4 separate regions of the Homo sapiens genome follow, and all the other regions are linked to region 1. The links are contacts of gene promoters, found by promoter capture Hi-C in blood cells and fetal thymus (Javierre and others, 2016). All regions are on one chromosome and are shown on one strand. Each heading gives the region's core, a stretch centred on a gene start or on the middle of the fragment in contact. The rest is flanking DNA. Distances are from core to core; before and after follow the strand shown. Region 1 holds the start of FAT4 (FAT atypical cadherin 4). Region 2 has its middle 230 kb from the start of LINC02516. Region 3 has its middle 240 kb from the start of LINC02516. Region 4 has its middle 84 kb from the start of LINC02379.

What was found. Contacts are between HindIII fragments. The CHiCAGO score rates a contact against its expected background, and 5 or more counts as called.
Region 2: a fragment that was not itself captured here is called in contact with the fragment with the promoter of FAT4 in region 1 in 5 of 17 cell types (M2 macrophages, M1 macrophages, M0 macrophages and 2 more); the score reaches 17.4 in M2 macrophages.
Region 3: a contact is called between a fragment that was not itself captured here and the fragment with the promoter of FAT4 in region 1, in 2 of 17 cell types (M2 macrophages and M0 macrophages). The highest score is 8.6, in M2 macrophages.
Region 4: a fragment that was not itself captured here is called in contact with the fragment with the promoter of FAT4 in region 1 in 1 of 17 cell types (megakaryocytes); the score reaches 6.3 in megakaryocytes.

The regions. Positions count from the first base shown.
Region 1 is chr4:125,313,417-125,316,255 of GRCh38, forward strand. It overlaps FAT4 (FAT atypical cadherin 4), which reads left to right and starts at 1,539. Exons shown (of 18, transcript NM_001291303.3): 1 at 1,539-2,561. The HindIII fragment of the contact is 5,556 bases long and covers 496-2,839 here.
Region 2 is chr4:124,331,573-124,334,384 of GRCh38, forward strand. No RefSeq gene overlaps it. Among named protein-coding and RNA genes, the nearest start is that of LINC02516, 230 kb to the right of the region's middle. The HindIII fragment of the contact is 3,584 bases long and covers 1-2,812 here.
Region 3 is chr4:124,314,965-124,317,695 of GRCh38, forward strand. No RefSeq gene overlaps it. Among named protein-coding and RNA genes, the nearest start is that of LINC02516, 240 kb to the right of the region's middle. The HindIII fragment of the contact is 5,621 bases long and covers 1-2,731 here.
Region 4 is chr4:125,978,222-125,981,057 of GRCh38, forward strand. No RefSeq gene overlaps it. Among named protein-coding and RNA genes, the nearest start is that of LINC02379, 84 kb to the right of the region's middle. The HindIII fragment of the contact is 3,481 bases long and covers 1-2,836 here.

The DNA.
Region 1 (2,839 bases), core at 289-2,788:
GCTGTCTGTCCTACTATTCTTGATTTTTTTTTTTTTACTCTAAATAAGAAAGGCACTAGGAAAGTCTTAGAGATCGTTTTCTTTGCTGCTATCCCTAGGCAAGAAGCAGGAATTAGCCTTGTAATCCGATCCTTTTAGTCTCTGCATTTAATTTTAAGCAAGAAACCAGGAGACTAAAGATGTAAGACTGACGTAGAACAGCAGAGGGCAGTATTTACTCATGACTGAACCCTCTCTGGGCGCAGAAAGTTTTACGTTTGTGAGGGATCCTTGTGGCAGAAATGTATGACATATGCCCTGTATTTGCATTGTTTGGCTTGAATTCTTATTTTCTAGGTTGGTTCCCTTAAAGGGGAAAAATATCGATCTGATTCCTAGTAACGTTTTTCTTCTTTTAAAGAAACGATGCATGCCACCACAAAAATTAACTGCAGTGAATAGTGGGTGAGTTGATCTGAGTGCATTAAGTGGCATGTGGGTATTTTTAAAAACTTAAGCTTAAATATTATTTTATTTATTTCTACTTTCTCGTATCTATTTCTCCCAGACTGAAAAGCAAAATAAAACTTTATTAGGTTTCCTTTGACTAAAAAATGTGGAGGTGGAAATACTCCATCAGGGATCAAAATTCCAAACTAACTTTGCAACAGGAAAAGATCTCCCTCTTTTCAAAGGGCTGCCATTATTATTGTTGTTGAAACCCTAAGGTTTGGGCTACTGGCACCTGGAATCCAGTTGGGAAAGAAAACAAAACAAACACTGAGTTCCCCTGGCCTTTCCTATAGTAGGAAGTCCAAAGTGCCCTTGCTACGGAGGCCTCCTGCCCCCTAGTCACCTGGAAGGTGGGGGAGAGGGGCAAGTGAGTGAAGATTTAGAGTTTAGCTCGCCCTAGACAGCAGGGAGCCCACTGTGTAGAAAGAGGAGCAAAGGGGAGGATTTGATTTGGATTCTGTGGGATCACACTGTATGGCAGCTCTATCCCTTGCATAAAGAGAGAAGGGGCAGGAAATGGTTAAAGCAAATCTGCACTGTGCATTCCCAGACAGGCTTTGCTTAATCCTTCCTCCCCGCTTTAACAGACCCTCACCCCCCGCCTTTCTTTTATTTCTCTCGACCCCCTTACCCCTGAGTTATTACTAGCATAACAACCTAACGGTCTTCCCCCAGACCCTGCCACTAAAGTTATTTATCTGCAAACCTGACCCCACCCCCATCTATTCTGCGGCAGCCTTTTGCTGTTATTGCTCTGACGCCGGCCAAGATTTGGCCGAAAAGGAAAAAAAAAAAAAAAAAAGAAAAGAAAAAAAATCACCCCCCTTTTTAGCGCCTCCGCCTCGCTGTGCTCCCACACCAGACCGCCTACAGCCCTCCGGGAGGCTGAAGTGATTAGCATCCCGAGAAGCCAGTCGGAGGCCGGGCAAGGCGGAGGGCGCTCGCGGTAGGAGTGCCGGTCGGGGCTGCTTCAGCTCCGGCCCAATGGGGCTGGGGCGAGGGAGGGGCAGAAGGTGACAGGACTGGGAGCTAGGGGGAGTCCAGGCGAACTAAAGTGCGGGGATCAATGAGTGTCGAGCAAAGTTTCTGAGTGCTGCTCCAGCTCGCGGTCTTCCCTCCCCCTCTGTTTGTGTTTCGGCGACGCGCTGTGTGTGTGTGTGTGCGTGTGTATGTGTGTGTGTGTGCATGCCTGTGCGGCGGGGAAGGGGCGGGGAGAGTGTGAGGGACCAGGCGGGAGGTGGAGAAGGGCTCGCGGAGCCCTAGCTCCACCGCAGTCCAACCTTCGGCCCCGGCCGGCGAGAGGGAGAGCGCTGACAGGCGCCGTCCGGAGCTGCGGAGGGCGTCACTACAGCCCAGCGCCGACTTCGCCGCCTCCGCTGCCAACTGTGAAGGAGAGAGAGGCATCAACCACCCCCCGCCCCAAACAAAAAGCCTTGTGGATTACAAAGTGAAACTGACACGGGACAATAAAAGCAGAGATAGCGAGGGCAGGGGCGAGGCGCGCTAGAGTGGGCTTCTGACTGGGGCCGCCGGAGAACGACCCCCCCTGGCATGGTGAGGGGAGGGCGACTCGGGGACCGCACGCTGTTTCTGCCCGACCCCTGCGAGGCCGAGAAGAAAGGGGAAACTGCGTTCGATTTGGATGTACAAATAATGGGTCGGCAGGCGCCCCGGCAGAGGTGAAAAATGCCGAGGAGCCCTGGCTGTTGTTTGTGCCGGACCACGGGCTTGAAGCCGCAACAGGGGCGGCGGCGGCGGCGGCTGCAGGAGGGGAAGGGGCAGAGTTGAGCGCTCCCGGGTACGGGAGCCAGAGCGCGAACGCTAGCGCTTGGAACGCAGTTCCCGAACTGCCTGCGCGCAGACGCCGCCGCCTGGGCCTCAGCGGCCACTGCCGGCGCCCTGTTGGAGGGGCGTTGCAGCCTGGTTTTTGAGGAGTGGGGACTCCAGGAATTCCATCGCCTCCAGCTTTTGGGAAAGAAATTCGATTCTCCCGGTTCCCCACCACCCCTTCCCCGGTGCGCAGTTGTGCTTGGACGTTTGTTCCTCCCTCTTCACGTTCTTCGCTGCGGGTAAGTTCTAAAGTTTCTGAAGACCGTTCTTTGCAATGATTCCTCATATACCTTAGATACAGGCAACTTCTCCCAACTCTCATCCACCCGGGTGAAAACGCTCAGACTATCTGGATTCAAAAACAAAGTAAAAGGGGGCATATATAAGAGGCTTGAGAAACTTTTCTGGGAACTCAGCTCACAGGAGTGTCCCGCGGAATGCCCTGCCGCTTTTCGCCACAGCATCTCTCTTGCACTCCGCGTTCAACTGGCTACCTAGAGTCTTTTGCTGATGCTAC
Region 2 (2,812 bases), core at 298-2,797, 980 kb before region 1:
ACTATGTCGACTAATAATAAATAATATGTATTATGCACTCCCTGGGTTCAGGTTGCTCTTTTATGTGTGTGCACATGTGTTTGTATGTATATACATAAATGTATAGTTTATACGTAAAATACCTCAATTCACTTAAGTCACATAATAATCCATGCATGTTTGGATTAACGCTATACTTGCTTTATAGATTATAGATAATAGCGTTAAGGTAAAGGAAAATTAATTAACTGTCCTGAGTATACACACATAATCTGTTAGACGGTAAGGATTTGGACCACAGCAGCCTGGCACCAGAGCCTGTGCTATCAACTATAAAGCTATATTGCTTCTTGATGGAAGTTATTAAAATTAATCCTCCTGGTTTGGGATTCTATAAACTGCCTGTTTGTCTCTATGGCAACCATATTCAAAGCCTTCAGCTTCTAGACTCTCATGTGAAATCCCTACTAACCATAAGAACCACATGGCTCCTGTGTGTCCCACAAAACATATGCATATGATTAGATTTTATATATGACTCTTAACATCTTCCTCAAATAAATGTTCAATACTGTGAGCACTGGTTTTAGTTCATACATGAATTGTTTACATTTGATTTCCTAGTTATCAGCCTGAACAAACAAGTGAGGAAGGGAAGAAAGCGTGCACTGTCCTCCTCTTTCTAGGTCTTGAATGTATTCAAAAGTTTCATGGTTGGCCACAGGGTGAAACCTTGGAGGTCTTCCTAAAAAGTGTGGGGGAGGCCCTCAAATCCATAAAGGCAGTCAGCATGCTCCTGAATCAACTCTCAGAAAAGCACCTTCTAAGCTATTAATGATTAACATTTATGGGTATTGTTTTTTACATGCACATCCTAGTTTTGGGGGAAAATACTTACACACGTTAATTTTATGTTTTAATTCAAACCGCAAATGGCACAATGTTACATAGTAACTCAGTAGTAGAGCAGGGACTAGGGGACAAGAATTGTTCCTTTTCTTTTCTTTTTCTATTTCAGTCTTTACTGATCACCTGACATGCCAGCGACTACAACTATACAGGGCACACAGAAAAAAAAAATGCAACCCCTGTTCATCATCACCCCATCATTTACAATCTCTGATGTGATTGTAGCATCATCACTCTGCTTGGTTGGGCCTGTGAGCAGGAGTTACATAACTCAGAGCAGCAGCAATCACCAGGGCCCTGGGAGGGTAGATTTGCCTGCATCCTCTACTCACCCAGAGCCATGCAGCAAGGGCTGGATGGCTGCTAGCCCCAGAAAACCTTAGCAGACTGTGAGGCTCAATCCAGTTTTGAAAAGCGGTAAAGAATGCACCCATTGGGCCGGGCGGGGTGGCTGACACCTGTAATCCCAGCACTTTGGGAGGCCAAGGTGGGCGGATCAAGGCCGAGATCAAGAGATGGAGACTATCCTGGCCAACATGGTGAAACCCCATCTCTACTAAAAATACAACAATTAGCTGTGCATGGTGGCGTGCGCCTGTATTCCCAGCTACTTGGGAGGCTGAGGCAGGAGAATCACTTGAAACCCGGGAGGCAGAGGTTGCAGTGAGCCGAGATAGCACCACTGCACTCCAGCCTGGGCAACAGAGCAAGACTCCATCTCAAAAAAAAAAAAAAATGCATCCATCAGGAACGTTGTCTTTACCAATCCCTAGCCTCCACCCTTGGTTGCCCTGGAATTTTCTTCCATCAATCCCTCTGCTTAGTATGAGGTAAAAGGCTGAATGTATTTCAGCTATAATCAGAGGCACTAGGAAAACTGTGTGTGTGTGTCCATGAACACTCCCAGGTACATGTATGTGGGTTGGCAAATGACCTGAGGGAATATCAGGGAGGGAAGTAAAGCAATTTAAAGTACAGATGAAAGGAACTGAGGATGAGTGCACGGTTCCTGGCTCAAGATATGCTTCTCAGAAGTTTTGTAGAGTATTTAAAAGCCCTTCCTGACTTGTCAGGTAACCCACATTTTCCTAATGGTCTGAGCTAGTGGAAATGGAATGTGCTTTTTCGATAGGCTGCTCAATCTAAATCTCTGAGTATCTTCTGATTTGTCTGGTAAGCAAAATGTATGACTTCAGAAATCTTAATTGGCATTTAACGAATGACTTTTCAGCTTAAATGTTAGTCTTGCGTAATTACAACTCTTCAAGTAAAAATATGGTATTCTGGTAAAGAAATTTAATGTCTCAAAGAGGAATAGTTTCCAAATAAAAAGCTGCAGAGAACTTAAAACTACGATCATGAGATCACTGCTTTGTATAATTTATATGATACAATCATTAGATTCGTTTCCTTTATAAGTTACTTCAGACATAATACTAGAAATTATATAGACTTGCTAATGGATTCCCTTTTTAGAAAATGCTATCATATATTAATACATCTCTCTACTTCCTTATTATTAAAACATAATCCCCATTTATTTCCATTTAGAATAATCAAACAAATCAAAAGCATGATACTAAGCACTATAGTAGTAAGGTTGCATAAAAAGAAAAATGACTAAAACCACAAATCTACTGAATAATAATACTTAAGTAGAATAGTGTTATTTTATAATTTTATTAAATGAATTTAAATAAAAACAATGGTTTGTGCAGAAAGCTAAATGCTAGATTTAAAACCATAATATCAACTGGGAAAATGCCACTAGGTGGAGCCCATGGTTTCTAAGATTTTTGATAGTCTCCTCAAGTAGTCCTGGGGTAAGTATTTTCTAGCTGTTGAGTCACAGTGTTGTTAACTGTTAGGGAGAGACATTAGCTTGATATATAGGACGATCCTTTGGTTACGATTAGGAAATGGG
Region 3 (2,731 bases), core at 174-2,673, 1.0 Mb before region 1:
TACTCATCAATAATTACTTTAAATGTAAATGGATTAGATTATCCAATCGAAAGATAGAGTGGCTGAATGGATAAAAGACCAAAATTCAACTGTGTGTTGCTTATTAAAAAACTCATTTTAACTTGAAGAATGCACATATGCTGAAAGTAAAGGAATACAAAAAGATGTTTTACGCAAATGATAACCAAAACAGACCAGGATTGGCTATACTAATATCAGGCAAAATAGACTTTAAGCAAAAAACTGTAAAAAAAGACAAAGAAGGTCCTCATATAAAGATAATGGGGTCAAATTACCAAAGGATATAACAATTATAAATATAGATGCATCTAACATTTTAGCACCTAAATGTTTTTTTTTTTTTTTTAAATATTAACAGAACTGAAGGGAGAAAAAAATACAATAACAGCGGGGGACTTCAACACTCCACTTTCAACAATGAATAGGTAAGCCAGACAGAAAATCAATAAGAAAACAGCAAATTTGATTAATACTATACACTTAATGGACCTAAAAGACATATACCGAAAATTCTATCTAACAGTAGAATAATAGACATTCTTCCACAGCAGACTTGGCATACCTTCCAGGACAGATAATATGTTGGACCACAAAACAATTCTTAACATATACAAGGAGATTGAAATCGTATCATTTATCTTTTCTGACCACAATAGTATAAAACTAGGAATCAATAAAAAGAGAAAATTCAGAAAATTTACACATATGTGGAAATCAAACAACTCACTAATGAACAATTAGTGGGTCAAAGAAAAAATTTTAAAAAATTTAAAAATACGTTGAGACAAAGGAAACTAGAAAACAACATACCAAAATTACTGAGATGCAGCAAAAGCAGTTTTAAAAGGAAAGTTTATAGCAATAAATGCCTATTTTAGGAAAAAGAAAGGCTTCAAGTAAACAACCTAAGCGTATACCTTAAGAATCTAAAGAAAGAAGAACAAATGAAGCCCCAAAGTGAGCAGAAAGAAAGAAAGAATAAAGATTAGAGGAAAAGTAAATGAAATAGACATGAAAAAAATAGAAAAGATCAAGAAAACTAAAAGTTCAGTTTTTAAAAAGAAAAATAAAATTTACAAACATTTACTTAGACTAACCAAGCAAAAAAGAAGACTCAAATAAATAAAATTATAAATGAAAGAGGAAATATTACAACTGATACCACATAATGCAAAGGATCATAAAAGACAACTGTGAACAATTATAAGCCAACAAAAGGGATAACCTACAATAAGTAAATAAATGCCTAGAAACATAGAAAGGCCAAGGTTAAATCATAGAGAAATAGAAAATCTGAAAGGACTAAAAGACTAAAGAAACAGAAAATTTGCAAAGACTAGTTTGAAAAGACTAAAAGACTATGGAGTTTGAATCAGTAATCAAAAATCTCGCAACAAATAAAAGCCCAGGACCAGATGGCATCATTACTGAATCCTACCAAACATTAAAGAAGAGTTAATGCTAATGCTTCTTAAATCCTTCTAAAAAAATTGTAGAGGAAGGAATATTTCCAAATTCATTTTATGAGGCCAATATTTTCCTGACCCCAAAGCCAGAGAAGGACACTATTAAAAAAAGAAAATTACAGCCAATATCTCTGATGAATATCTCATAGGTGCAAAATCATTACTAATGTATTAACAAATGGAATCAAACAGCATGTTAAAAGGATCATACATGATGATCAAGTGGGATTTATCCCTGGAATGTGTGAATGGCTCAACATACAAAACCCACTAAATTCAATACACCATATTAATAGAATGAAATATAAAAATCATTTGATCAGGATCAGGCATGCTGGCTTATACCTGTAATTCCAGCACTTTGGGAGGCTGAGGTGGGCTGATCACTTGAAGTTAAGAGTTCGAGAACAGCGTGGCCAACATGGTCAAACTCCATCTCTACTAAAAATACAACATTAGCTGGGTGAGGTGGTGCGGGCTTGTAATCCCAGCTACTTGGGAGGCTGAGGCACGAGAATCACTTGAACCCGGGAGCAGAGGTTGTAGTAAGCTGAGATCGTGCCACTGCACTGCAGCCTGGGAGACAGAATGAAACTCCATCTCAAAACAACCAAAAAAAATTATTTGATCATTTCAGGAGACACAGAAAAAACATTTGAAAAAATTCAACACTGTTTCATGATAAAAACTTTCAACAAATTAGGTATAGATGGTGTGTACCTCAACATAATAAATGCCATATATAACAAGCCCACAGGTAACATTACAGTCAATGGTGAAAAGAAAAAAATCTTTCCTCTAAGATCAGGAACACCACCAGGATGCCCACTCTTTTTTTAATCTTCTTTTTGTGGAGAATGGGCTTTCACTATGTTGCCCAGCCTGATCTTAAGCATTTGGATTCAAGCTATCCTCCTGCCTTTGCCTCCCTGAATGCTGGGATTAAAGGTATGAATCACAATGCCCAGCCCCAGAATGCCCACTCTTACCACTTTTTTTCAACACAGTATTGCAAGTCCTAGCTAGAGCAAATAGTCAGGAAAAAGACATAAAACTCTTCCAAATTGGAATAGAAGAAGTAAATTGATCTCTGTTTGCAGACGACATGATGTTATGTAAAGAAAACCTTAAATAATACACCAAGAATGTTAGAAGTAATAAGTGAATTCAATAAAATTGCAGGATACAAAATTAACATAAAAAAGTCACCTTTTAGGCCAAGTGTGGTGGCTTATGCCTGTAAT
Region 4 (2,836 bases), core at 276-2,775, 660 kb after region 1:
AGGTCAGGAGTTCGAGACCAACCTGGGCCACAAAGTGAGATCCCATATCTACAAAAATTTTAAAAACATAGCCAGGTATGGTGGTGTGCACCTGTGGTCCCAGCTACATGAGAGGCTGAGGCAGGAAGCTCTTCTGAGCCTAGGAGATGGAGGCTGCAGTGACCCATGTTTATATCACTTAACTCCAGCTAAGGCAACAGAGCAAGACACTGTCACAAAAACAAACAAACAAAATGTTTAAAATAAATTATTGAAGATTGAAGATTTCAACTTAAGAAACCAGAAAAAAGAGGCAACTCATGTAACAACCATGAAAAATAACAAAAATATGAGAAGATATTTTTCCACAAAGAAACTTTAGGCCTATATGATCTACTTGTGAATTTTATTAAGCATGTAAATAATAACACATTGTAGCATGTACTTATAAAGTGAGTAAAATTCTAATATTAAATCTGATACAGAAATTAAAGAAAACAATTACAGCAATAGCCCTAATGAACATATTCACAGAAATCATTTACAAAATGTTAGTGAATCAAATGCAGCAATATGTAAAATGGAACATAATTATCTTGCCAAAATGAGGCTTATCCCACTAATACAAGACTGTCAACATTTAAAAATGTATCAATGGTGTTTCACCGTATTAACAAAATAAAGAGAAAATTCACATATAATCACTTCAATAGATGTAATTCAACACCCGTTCCATAATAAAACACTCAGTAACTATGAATATGGCATACACTGTCCACAATCAGAAAGATGGGTGTGAAAATCTATGGGGAACATCAATCATATTGGTATAATATTAATAGTTTTCTCTTTAATTTGGGGGAAAATCATGATCACCTGCTCTTCCCATTTCTATTTAACATTGTTTGGAAGTCCTAGCCCAAAAAAAATAAAATAAAATAAATCAAGAAATATGAAAAATAAATAAAAACTAGAGAAAATAAAATTAAAATTAAAAACGTAAAAGTTAGGAAGAAATATGTAAAATGACTATTTACAGACACATGGTTTTTTACATAGAAAATTCTAAAATATCTACAGCTATAGAATTAATGATTCAAGTTTTCAACATTGAAGATGCGCTACATTATGTGAAATCAGGGAAATGCAAATTAAAATAACAAGGAGATACCACTGCACTATATTATTTATTTTTTCTATTGATCTATTTAACTTATTATCATGCCAACATAGTGATGTTTACCTTAGGTGTGTAGTTTATGGAAAGCCTTGAAGTGAGGCCTCGAGCAGCCAAAATCTGGAACACGGACCACAGCAACATTGGTGATGATATGGAGCATCAGGATCTCATGCACTACTGAGGAGAACGCAAAATGGTACAGCCACTTTGGAAGACAGATTGGCAGCTTTTTACAAAATTAAACATGCCGTTACCATAAGATCCATCAAATGCACTCCTTGGTTTTTAATGAAATAAAATGAAAACTTATGTCCACACAACAAACCTAAACATAGATGTTTAAAGCAGTTTTATTTGTAATTACCCAAATTAAAAGCAACAAGATGTCCTTCAGTAGGTGAACAGATAAACTATGAAGCATTCAGATAATGGAATATTATTCAGTGCTAAAAATAAATGACCTATCAAGTTATGGAAACCACAGAGGCAACTTACATTTCTAATACTAAGTGAAAGAAGCCAATCTAAATAGGCGATACACTGTATGATCCCAAATATATGAAATTCTGGGAAAAAAAATCAATAGAGACATTAAAACTGTCAGGCTAAGGGTTGGAAGGTGGAGGATGAATAGGCAAAGTACGAAGAGTCTGTGGGGTGTGAAAATACTTTGTATGATGCAATAATGATGGATAAGTCATTATACATTGTCCAAACCCACAGAACGTCCAACAAACACCAGGAGTGAATGCTCATGTGAACCACGGACTTTCAGTGATAATGATGTGTCGTGTAGGTTAACCAATGGTAAAAATGTACGACTCTGGTGACACATTTCACCCCATCCCCTTGGGAGATGCTGATAATGAGAAAGGCTACGCATGTGCATGTGTGTGGGGAGGAAATACAGGGGAAATCTCTGTACCTTCCTCTTAATTTTGCTGTTTATCTGAAACTGCTCTAAATATTTTTAATAATAATTTTAAAAATCAGCAAGTTTGCAAGATTTGTCATCTTATATAACATTCAATTACACTTAAATATGACAGTAAAAATATTGAAAAATGGAATTTAAAAATCCAATTACCAATAGCATCCAAAAATAAATGGCAAAAATTCATCTAGCAAATAATTTGAAACACCTTCCTGTACACTGAAAACTATAAGAGATTACCAAAAAAAGGTAATGAATACTTTAATAAATGGATAAATAAATGTATTCCCATGTTAGAAAACTCAATTTTGTTAAAATTTTCAATTTTGTTAGTAGAATTTTTATGGAAAATCACAAGTTTTTCTGCAATTCATTCTAACATATGTATGGAAATGTACAAGATCTACAATAGTCAAACAATCTTGAAAATTAAAACAATTTGGAGGACTTAAAATATCTCACTTCCAGCCAGGCACAGTGGCTCATGCCTTTAATCTCAGCACTTTGGGAGGCTGAGGCGGGTGGATCACTTGAGTGCAGGAGTTCGAGACCAGCCTCGCCAACATGGTGAAACACTGTCTCCACTAAAAATATGGAAATTAGCCAGGCGTGGCTGCACACACCTGTAATCACAGCTACTCGGGAGGCTGGGACAGGAAAATCCCTTGAACCCAGGAGGCAGAGGTTGCTGTGAGCCTAGATAGAGACACTGTACTCCAGCCTGGGCAAAGAGTGAGACTGGG